Regions from separate parts of the Homo sapiens genome. Here regions 2 and 3 are each linked to region 1. The links are contacts of gene promoters, found by promoter capture Hi-C in blood cells and fetal thymus (Javierre and others, 2016). All regions are on one chromosome and are shown on one strand. The core of a region is centred on a gene start or on the middle of the fragment in contact, and the rest is flanking DNA. Distances in the headings are between cores, read along the strand shown.

Region 1 (3,429 bases), core at 636-3,135:
GAAGATAAACTGCGTGTGTGTTGGGGGCAGCCAGAGGTAACACAGACCTAAGACAGTGAGAATCAATCATTCTAATTGTTCTAATTGCAGAGTCCACCAAACTGTAATTAGAAGTCTCTGTATGCTTTCGCTGCTTCTTACGCCATCCAAGACTATAAAAGTTGTGCAATTTAAAATTCAGTAAAGACCAAAGCGGTTTCCAACTGCTGAGATGAGCAAAACCCAGAGTCAACAGCTGTCAATCACTGTTCATCTGAAGGGCAGCACTGCAGGCAAGTGTGGTAGCCTGGAGATGAACATTATTTCTTTATTTTTGAGACAGAGTTTCGCTCTTTTTGCCCAGGCTGGAGTGCAACGGCTCGATCTCAGCTCACTGCAACGTCCGCCTCCCGGGTTCAAGCGATTCTCCTGCCTCAGCCTCCCGAGTAGCTGGGATTACAGTGCCACCATGCCCGGCTAATTTTGTATTTTTAGTAGAGACAGGGTTTTACCATGTTGGCCAGGCTGGTCTTGAACTCCTGACCTCAGGTGATCTGCCCGCTTCAGCCTCCCAAAGTGCTGGGATTACAGGCGTGAGCCACCGTGCCCAGCCCGGGATTAACATTATAAACAGCATGGCGATTTTGTTTGGCTTGACCACTCTGACAAACACCTTAAAAAGAGAATAAATCTGACTTACATTCTGAGCCACCACAGCAGCACTGTAGTCGCTGCCCCATGGAACTCCCCCATCCTGCTTCCACTATGGTCTGCTCAAGCAGCAGCACTCACTAGTCCCATCTCCAGCAAGCAATGTGCTTTTCTAGAAGCCAGGAACACTTAAGTGAGCAAAAGGTTCTATAAGTCACACTCACGTAGGAAGAGTAGAGTTCCCCGGTCTCTGTAATTTCACCCGCCATTTCCAAAAGTGAGGAAGGGCTGGCAGCAGAGGTTCCTTAGGTGCAAGGACGGCGGCTGCCGCAGCTCCTTAAAACAAAAGAGCAGGCTTCACCTATCTGATGGACTGAGACAGGGGTGGGAGGAGGCTTGCAGACTTCCCCTGCCACCTCTGGTTCTTTTATCACAGACACTTAGGGCCTCAGTATCTGTCACAAGACTCACCCCCGAGGGAGGGGTCACCCTGGATGACAGAAATCTGGACGGTTTCTTCTAACATTTCCCTTGCTGTGCAGGGCACTGCTCTGTGCCCAGCACGGATGTTTTCAATGCTGCTCGGGGTGCAAGTGATTTAAGGGGCCTCTAAAACCACTAAGTCTCACCCACCACAAGAGCCCCCTTTCCACGCTCTGGGGTGGTTATCCTCGTTTAGTTCCAGGAACCAGGAGCTCACTACCACACATGGGAGCCCAAGGAACTGTCTGCCGCCTCTGCCTAGGGCAGGGAGCTGGGGGCTTTCCTACATTGCCCTTCCAACTCCACTCTTGGCACTAAGGCCTCCTTTTTTTAATGGGGCCTCCACTCCCTGGCCCCACCTACTCTCTTAGGGTTCCCCACCCTCAAAGCTCCCTCTTTTCTCAAGAACCCCACTCCCAGCCTCTCCCTCTCTCTCCCTCCTGGAGGAGTCCCGAGTCTAGTGCCGCCCCGCCCCGCCCCAACCTATCCCGACCCGTCTCGTCCTCTCCCGCCCGTCCCGACCCGACCCGACCCAACACCTGCAGCACAGCCAGCTCCCAAGCCGCCGTCTCCCGCCGGTCCGCTGCTGCCGGCGCCAGCTGTCCAGCACCAGCTTCCGCAGCGCGCATGCGCCGGCCCCACAGCCCACCTTTTTCGCGCGCGCTGATTGGGCGCCTCGCGGGGGCGGGACCGGGATTGGGGCCTGGCGGCTGCCGTCAGCATGGCGGAAGTGGGCGGGGCGCGTTCTCACGCGCATGCGGAAGGGGCGGTAGCCGGCCGGGCCTGGGAACGTGGCTGGTTGGAGGAGGTAGATCACCCTTTCTGCGGGGGACGATTTCGTCGGTGGTAGGTGGGTGTGAGCTTGGCAGTACCCGGGTCCGCGTGGTTGGAGGGTCGAAGAGAGTGGTCTAGAACGCCACTCAAAGGGGAGGGCCTAAGACTAAGCCCGCCTTGCCCTGAAGTGGTCGGGGGCGGGGAGGGAGTGGCTAGAGCCCCGTGGGGTGGTCGCCGGGGTAAGAGGTTGGAAGTAGGTTTAAGGCAGGGCTGAAAGTTGATTCTGGGTTGGAATCCCTGGACTGGGGCAAGTAATGGGAGCTCTGGGGATACTTTGGTACTTGGTACTTGGTGCTTGGGTTTGAGGAATCGAAGTTCTGGGGAGTGGACGGAAGGAACCGGCAGAAACGGAGCCCAGGCTTGGCCTCTTGGAGTGGGAGTCAAGGATTGTTTAATTATCCTTAACCAGCCTGGTTCTCTTTCTTGCAAGAATTTTGGAGTCTGTATTCTTTGAAGTGTCTAGACGGAACTAATGACGGAAGTCAACTTAGCCCCAGCAGGAAAGCTGGAGCGCCTACCCAAAGTTGGAGGAAATTCAGGGTCCTGAAGTCTTTGCTCTCCCCATCTGCATGCAGGCTGCTACCATGAGGTTGAATCAGAACACCTTGCTGCTGGGGAAGAAGGTGGTCCTTGTACCCTACACCTCGGAGCATGTGCCCAGGTATCTTTCCCGCTTGACATGGGGTGCGTATCAGCACCCAGAGCTGTGTAAGGTACAGCCCCAGTCTCAGGGCTATTTCCCCTAAGAAGAAACATTGGTTGTGAGAAATAATTATATATGAGGGGGGAAAAAAGGCTGGGTGCCGTGGCTCACGCCTGTAATTCCAGGACTTTGGGAGGCTGTGGCAGGAGGATTGCTTGAGCCCAGCAGTTCGAGACCAGCTTGGGTAACGTAGCGAGACCTTGTCTCTACAAAAAAATACAAAAATTAGCCAGGCATGGTGGTGCACAGCTGCAGTCCCAGCTACTAGGGAGGCTGAGGTGGGAGGATTGCCTGAGCCCAGGAGATGAAGACTGCTGTGAGCTGTGATTGTACCACTGTACTCCAGCCTGGGTGACAGAGCAAGAACCTGTCTCAAAAAAAAACAAAAAAAACAAAAAAACAAAAACAAACAAAAACAAAAAAACGGCCGGGTGCGGTGGCTCACGCCTGTAATCCCAGCACTTTGGGAGGCTGAGGCGGGTGGATCATGAGGTCAGTAGTTCAAGACCAGCCTGGCCAACATGATAAAACGCCATCTCTACTAAAAACACAAAAAATTAGCTGGGCTTGTTGCCCGGCACCTGTAATTCCAGCTACTTGGGAGGCTGAGGCAGGAGAATCACTTGAACCAGGGAGGTGGAGGTTGTGGTGAGCCGAGATCACACCACTGTACTCCAGCCTGGGCAACAGAGTGAGACTTTGTCTCAAAAATAAAATAAAATAAAATAAAGGCTGGGCGCAGTGGCTCACGCCTGTAATCCCAGCACTTTGGGAGACCG
Region 2 (3,429 bases), core at 419-2,918, 340 kb after region 1:
CCCAGAGCCGGTGCTTGTTAACCGGGCAGTTAAGAAAGTCTGAAGCCCCCAGGCCTCCAGATCAGCACAGTCTGGGGGCAGGGTCAGGACTTTGAGATGGCACCCCCAAATTTCCAGGTCATGTCAGATGAGGGGCTGCAGCCAGCAGGCTGAGGAAGAGCAGGTGGGATGCGTGCAATGGGCCACATCGGTAAGGGGATTAGCACAGGGGCTGGCACAGAGCAGGTGCTGAGGAAATGCTAGTGGGCTGTACAGCTAACAAGGGCGCTGCTGAGACCACTACACGGCACCCCAAATACTTTTATTAAAAAGAGAAAAAGGCCAGGTGCAGTGGCTCACACCTGTAATCCCAGCACTTTGGGATGCCGAGGCAGGCGGATCACTTGAGGTTAGCAGTTCGAGACCAGCCTGGCCAACATAGTGAAATCCCGTCTCTATTAAAAATACAAAAATTAGCCAGGTGTGGTGGCACGTGCCTGTAATCCCAGCTACTTGGGAGGCTGAGGCAGGAGAATCTCTTGAGCCCGGGAGGCGGAGGTTGCAGTGAGCCAAGATCACACCACTGTACTCCAGCCTGGGTGACAGAGCGAGACTCCGTCTCAAAAAATAAAAAAAGAGAAAAAAATTACCTGAAAAATACTTCCTTTTAAAGAAAACTAAGGTGATTATGGATACATACATAATAGAAAAACAAGTTCTGGAAGGATAGTATTAGTAAAATATGTAAAATAATAGACACGCACACACAGCAAATAGCTAATTCTTCAAGAGTGCTTTTCATGGGCCGGGCACTAAGTAATTTTTTTTTTTTTTGAGATCATCCAGGCTGGAATGTGGTGGTGCAATCACGGCTCACTGAAGCCTCAACCTCCTGGGCTCAGGCAATCCTCCTGCCTCAGCCTCCTGAGGAGCTGGGACCATAGGCATGCACTACCACACCTGGCTAATTTTTGAAATTATTTGTAGAGACGGGGCCTCACTATGTTGTCCAGGCCGGTCTCAAACTCCTAGGCTCAAGCTCCACTCACCTCAGCCTCCCAAAGTGCTGGGATTACAGGTGTGAGCCATGGCGCCCAGCCGGCACTAATTAATTCAATCCTCACAAGAACCCTATGAAATAGGTACTGACATTATCCCCATTTTACAAATGGAGAAACAAAGGCACATAGATATTATATCAGTCAATAGTGGTCACTTCTGGGGATGGAACAGGATGGGACGGGTAGGACTGGGGAGGCAGCTGGGGAAAATTTCATTTTATCTGTAATGTTTGAAATTTTACAGTGAGAATGTATGCATGAATTATATGAATATAGAAAAAAAATCTTATTTATTTATTTATTTTGAGATGGAGTCTTGCTCTGTCACCCAGGCTGGAGTGTAGTGGCTCGATTTTGGCTCACTGCAACCTCCGCCTCCCAGGTTCAAGTGATTCTCCCGCCTCAGCCTCCCGAGTAGCTGAGATCACAGGCATGAGCCAGCACACCCAGCTAATTTTTTTGGATTTCTAGTAGAGACGGGGTTTCACCATGTGGATCAGGCTGGTCTCGAACTCCTCGTCTCAAGTGATCCACCCGCCTTGGCCTCCCAAAGTGCTAGGATTACAGGCATGATCTACCATGCCCAACTGAAAAAAAAAAATCTTTAAATTAAATGGAATTTAGAGACACTTAGGCAGAAAACTACAGAAAACCTCAAAAACTTTCCATTTTGCTCAAGAGACTGGCTCCCTGTCCTGCAGTAAAAGACATGGGATGGAGAAAGGGGCCACTGGGGGCATCCACAGAGACCCACCTGCAACCGGCTCATCCATGGAAAAGGCCTTGTTCTCCACGAACATGCTCTGACCCTTCTGCTCTTTCAGGATGGTCTCATAGCCCACGCCCCGGGTGGGGTACATGTCCCCCTGGTAGCTTTGCTCTGGGCTGGACTTGGTCACCTGGGAGACCTCGGGGATGACGTAGAAGAGGACGAAGGCCCAGGCATTGGCGGCGAGGGCGATGGCCAGCGTGGGGTCATCCCAGGTGGGACTGTTGTGCTGCTTGTTGCCGTAAGTATACATGACGATCCACACCACCCATATGGCAACGGAGGTGGCTGTGGTGAGGAGCACAAAGACCCCATGCTTACGCCAGCGCTTGTAGCGGCCACACAGGGCGGGCCAGGCCCCCAGGAAGGCACCCAGCAGCAGCAGCATGACGTAGATGAGTGCCATGACAAAGTCCATGTTGGCGATGGCACAGGGGGAGGCCACGGCCCAGCCTGCGCTGCTGTTGCCCTGAGGGCCGCCCTCGCCACTGCCCCGAACCAGGGTGATGATCAGCCACTCTGTATTGATGATGACCTCTACCAGGGTCAGCAGCAGAGCCACAGTGAAGATCACCCAGCCCCGGGGCCCGTGGTTCTTCCGGGCCAGGAAGTTGAGGGCAAAGACGTGAGCCGCCAGACAAGAGAAGCAGATGGCGAACAGAACCCCAAAGAGGAAGCGCCGAGAGGCACAGGTGGAGAAGTCGGGCTTCACCACACAGGCAAACACGAGGCAGAAGAGGCCCAGGGTCCCCAGAAGGAAGAATACCTGGGTCCCCAGCAGGCTCCGTTTCTTGGTGTCCTGCACAAAGGGGAGGCTGGCCACCAGGATGATGGTGAGCACAAACGTGGTGACAATGCCCGCCCCAGCCACGGCCTCCAGGACGATGCCCCACGCCCCAGAGCGGTCACACAGGTTGTAGTACAGGGGGTTGAGGCCTTGGCTGCAGCCGGGTGGGACATGGCCCTGGGCCCAGGCCCCTGGGAACAGGAAGAGAGGCAGTCCCAGGCACATCACCAAGGCTTTGTGGATGGCCATCCTGGCTCCCAGGCCAGGCTCTGGTTGGGTCCCTAGAGACAGAAGGAAAAGGGACAAAATTAGTCCTCCAAGATCAGACTCCAATATACATGGTGCTGCTTCCCCCAACCTAAACCCAGGCAGATAGTGCTAGCTGCTGACCGTGAGGCTCTCTGGACCTCAGAATCCTTCTTAACATAGAACCCCTGAGAGGCATTTCAACTGGCCACAGAGGCAAATGAGATGAAGCCCATTTGTCAGCCCTATTCCTAGCCATGGCAAAAGAAAAACCTGTCATTGAATTTTCAGTTCCCTCCCTTCCACCAAACATAACCTGGGTTCAGATATTCCCTGAGCTCTGGCGGCCACGGTGGAGGATGAAGGGGCTTGTGAACAAGTCAAGACCAAGCATACCACCCACCCAGTACCTCCTCTCTGCCCTGGGACTTTCAGGCTTCAGGAGGTCAGCTGCTATGCCCCTAAACTCCATTCCTGTGAGGCCTAAATCCACAGCCAGTCAGCTATGTGTTCATTCATTCATTCAATAGACTTAACAAGCAGCTGCAGCAGGCATAACCAACAGCCAGGAAAAATGAAGAGACAGT
Region 3 (3,429 bases), core at 650-3,149, 300 kb after region 1:
GGTGCGGTGGCTCACGCCTGTAATCCCAGTGCTTTGGGAAGCCGAGGAGGGCAGATCACTTGAGGTCAGGAGTTCGAGACCAGCCGGGCCAATAGGGTGAAACCCTGTCTCTACTAAAAATACAAATATTAGCTGGGCATGGTGGCACACGCCCTGTAGTCCCAGCTACTTGGGAGGCTGAGACAGGAGAATCGCTTGAACCTGGGAGACGGAGGTTGCAGTGAGCTGAGATCATGCCACTGCACTCCAGCCTGGGCAACAGAGCAAGACTCTGTCTCAAAAACGAAAAAAAGAAAGAAAGAAAGGAAAGAAAGCTCCCAGCTGGAGGAGAGGGACCAAAACAAGCTCTCAACACGGGATCTCACACAAATGTTTCCAGGGGAGGAAGGATGCCACTGAAAAGCCCTGTGCATCTGGGGCTTAGGGCTGCATCAGACTGTGGGAAGTTGCTGGGGCCTCTGCTCCCATCCCCGTGCCTGAGGTCTGCCCTCCCAGACAGCCCACCTGCCTGCTGCCCCAGGCCGTAGGGAAGGAGGCCTGTCAGCCCCAGGGACGCCAGCTCAGGCTCACACAGCCCTTGGCTGCTGGCACCTGCTCTATAAGGGTGCTGCCTATGAGCACAGCCCTGTACACCCTAACCCTTTCACCCCAGGAGCCCGGACCACGTGGGCAGCGGGTGACACACACGCTGCTGATGCCCTTGGTTAGGTCCACAGCCAGGCAACCCCAGAGCCCACTGCACTGGATGCTGTGGGGATCTGTGGGCTCCTCCCCCAGAATTAAAGGGGAGGAGCCCACGGTTGGGAGACACAAGACCACGTATAGTGACGGGCTTGCTGAGCCACAGCTGACCTAATGGAGTGCGCAGCCGGGTACTCTGGGGTGCGAAGTGCCCTGCTTCCAAGTGCTGTGCGCAGGCACCACACTGCCCTCCCTGTCCCCACCTGGGACAAGTGTTCTGATGGGAAGGAGAAAAAGAGCTGGTGGGGAAGAGACAGGAGTTCAACGCCCGGGAAGGAGGGTGGTAGTGAGAAGGTTTGGGGGAGCCAGCGGTAGGGGAAGCTCACTGAAGGTAAGACCCAGTCTACCCCAGTCACAATGTTGTCCCCAGGGCCCAGCACAGGCCTGGCACACAGTAGGTGCTCAGGACAGCTTTGTTGTACGAATGAATGAACGACAAATGTGGGCTGGGGGAAAGAGTGGGGAGTAGGTGTGATGAGGCAGGTGTCAGGCTCCAGGCAGGGCAAGGGGAAGTCAGCCCCAGCCACACAGTCAGGGGATGGGGCACGGACTTGCAAAGCAGGGGACAGAGAGTCAAAAATGTTTGAATAGAAAGCCTTTATCTTGTTACTGAGGATGGGTTACAGGAAGCTTAAGACACCAGTAAACTCTGCGTCTGTGATTTTTAGAACATTTACTAGCTGGGAACATGGTACCATATGTTAAGTGCAAAAATGTAGGTTTAAAAGAGAATGAGTGGTATGAGGCCAATTTGTTAAGACATCGCAGATGCATGACTGGGTGTGGTGGCTCACATCTGTAATCCCAGCACTCTGGGCTTGAGCTCAGGAGTTCAAGACCAGGCTGGGCAACATAGTGAAACCCCATCTCTTAAAAAAAAAAATTTAACCATTAGCCAGACGTGGTGGTGAGCACCTGTAGTCCCAGCTATTTGGGAGGCTAAGGCAGGAGGATCACTGGAGCCCCGGGCAGTGGGGGGTCGAGGCTGGAGTGAGCCAAGATCATGCCACTGCACGCCAGCCTGGGTGACAGAGTGAGACTCTGTCTCAAAAAAGAGAAAAAAAAAGAAATCATAGATGCATTTACATAGGCATAGAAAAAAAGACTGGAAGGATATACCTCAGGGGCCAGTGGCTGGTTTTCTCTAGGTGGTGGGGTTTTTAGTTATCATCGATGATGGGGGATTTATTTCCTTCTTTGTGCTTTTGCTCATTTTTCAAACTTCCTACAATAATCACATACATCCTTTTCAAGGGGGGAGGAGGCTCTTTGAGGAGCCAGAGACTTTCTGGGTGAAAGGGCACAAAGGAAACCGAAAGGGGCTCAGAACTGAGACAACCCAGTGGCATCCACGTGGGTGCTGAAGTTTAGGATGGGATTACCAGAAAATGACACACACAAAGCAGATGGGAAAGAGGAAGTGGTTTTCTTCCCATACACCCTGCACAGATCTACTGAGGCTGATTTCTCCGCCAAAAGCCTGGGCGCCACAGGAGGCACTGGGGATATGTGTGAGCAGTGCCCCCCACCAAGCATGCAGCAGCTTATCCTGCAGCTATGGGACAGGATAACCCCATCTCTTCCCACCCCAGTCTCACTGCAGTCTTGGAAGGCTTTGGACAAAGATTCCCCTGAGAATCTTCTGCCTGTGGAATCTTCAACTCTCCGAACAGGGAGGAAGCTTCAGGCTTACACTTGACCTCGGCCAGGGATCTGCAATCTAGAGGACTGGTGGCCACACCTCCACTTGTTCCTCTGTTCCTGTGCTTATTCAATTTGCCTATCAGCTATTTATTGAGCATCTACTTACTGAGTGCCAAGAGTTCCTGTTCTCTCTTTTAATCTGAGCTCAGAGGAGGGCAGCTGGACTAGAGATTGCCTGGAGGCCCCTGGGGTGCCCGTTGCAGCTGGAGATACTGAATAACACATTAATTTGACAAATATTGGTTCTGTACCTCCTTGAAGCACATGCCTGTGGGAAGGCAGATGAGGACACCAGCAATGACAGTCTGGTTCCCAAAAGGCTGTGACAGCAGAGGTATAGCCAGGAGGGGCCCCAAGCCACTCTTTGGAGTCAAAGAAAAGGTCCCAGAGAAAAGAAAGTCTGAGGACCACTGTTGGAGTCCACTGGGAGTGAGCTGGGGAGAGGGGGCAGGGGAGGCCCTCCAGCCCAGAGCAAACCCAGAAGGAGAGGAGAGGCTGAGGTTGAGGCTGTCATTAAAGGAGATACAAGAAGTTGGTTTCCAGGGTGCGCGGATGGGGAGAGGGAGGTGGGTAGAGCCAGATCGTGGAGGGCAGTGACTCCTGTAGATACCTGGACTTTTTATGGTGGGGGAGACCATGCAAGGGTTTATTTTATCTTATAGACACGGGAGCCTTGTTGTGTTGCGCAGGCTGGTCTTGAATTCCTGGGATCAAGCAATCCTCCCATCTCAGCCTCCTGAGTAGCTGGAACTACAGATGCACACCACTGCACCCAGCACACCATGCCAGGGTTTTAAACAGAAGAGGGTCATTGCTTCATGGGGCAACCACCCTTGGCCTGGAAGTGGGAAAGCCTCCTGCTTGGGAGCCACCTCTCACAGCCTGTAACCACCACGCACAAGGATGCCTCCCATGGGACCTGCCCTGTAGGATCACCTAGGATGTGTGGTCTGGGTGTCACATGTCATAGCAATACTGTGGGAC

What was found. Contacts are between HindIII fragments. The CHiCAGO score rates a contact against its expected background, and 5 or more counts as called.
Region 2: a fragment that was not itself captured here is called in contact with the fragment with the promoter of NAT9 in region 1 in 1 of 17 cell types (neutrophils); the score reaches 5.3 in neutrophils.
Region 3: a fragment that was not itself captured here is called in contact with the fragment with the promoter of NAT9 in region 1 in 1 of 17 cell types (monocytes); the score reaches 6.5 in monocytes.

The regions. Positions count from the first base shown.
Region 1 is chr17:74,774,801-74,778,229 of GRCh38, reverse strand. It overlaps NAT9 (N-acetyltransferase 9), which reads left to right and starts at 1,885. Exons shown (of 7, transcript NM_015654.5): 1 at 1,885-1,963; 2 at 2,523-2,608. The coding sequence starts at 2,532. It overlaps SLC38A12 (solute carrier family 38 member 12), which reads right to left and starts at 1,731. Exons shown (of 10, transcript NM_017728.4): 1 at 1,653-1,731; 2 at 855-966. The coding sequence starts at 899. RefSeq lists an enhancer at 2,084-2,203. The HindIII fragment of the contact is 5,812 bases long and covers 1-3,429 here.
Region 2 is chr17:74,439,193-74,442,621 of GRCh38, reverse strand. It overlaps GPRC5C (G protein-coupled receptor class C group 5 member C), which reads right to left. Exons shown (of 4, transcript NM_022036.4): 2 at 1,795-2,877. The coding sequence starts at 2,845. Among named protein-coding and RNA genes, the nearest start is that of GPRC5C, 8.8 kb to the right of the region's middle. The HindIII fragment of the contact is 6,158 bases long and covers 1-3,429 here.
Region 3 is chr17:74,477,615-74,481,043 of GRCh38, reverse strand. All of the region lies in intron 4 of CD300A (CD300a molecule), which reads right to left. Among named protein-coding and RNA genes, the nearest start is that of CD300A, 13 kb to the right of the region's middle. RefSeq lists enhancers at 1,969-2,018, 2,029-2,108. The HindIII fragment of the contact is 1,051 bases long and covers 1,374-2,424 here.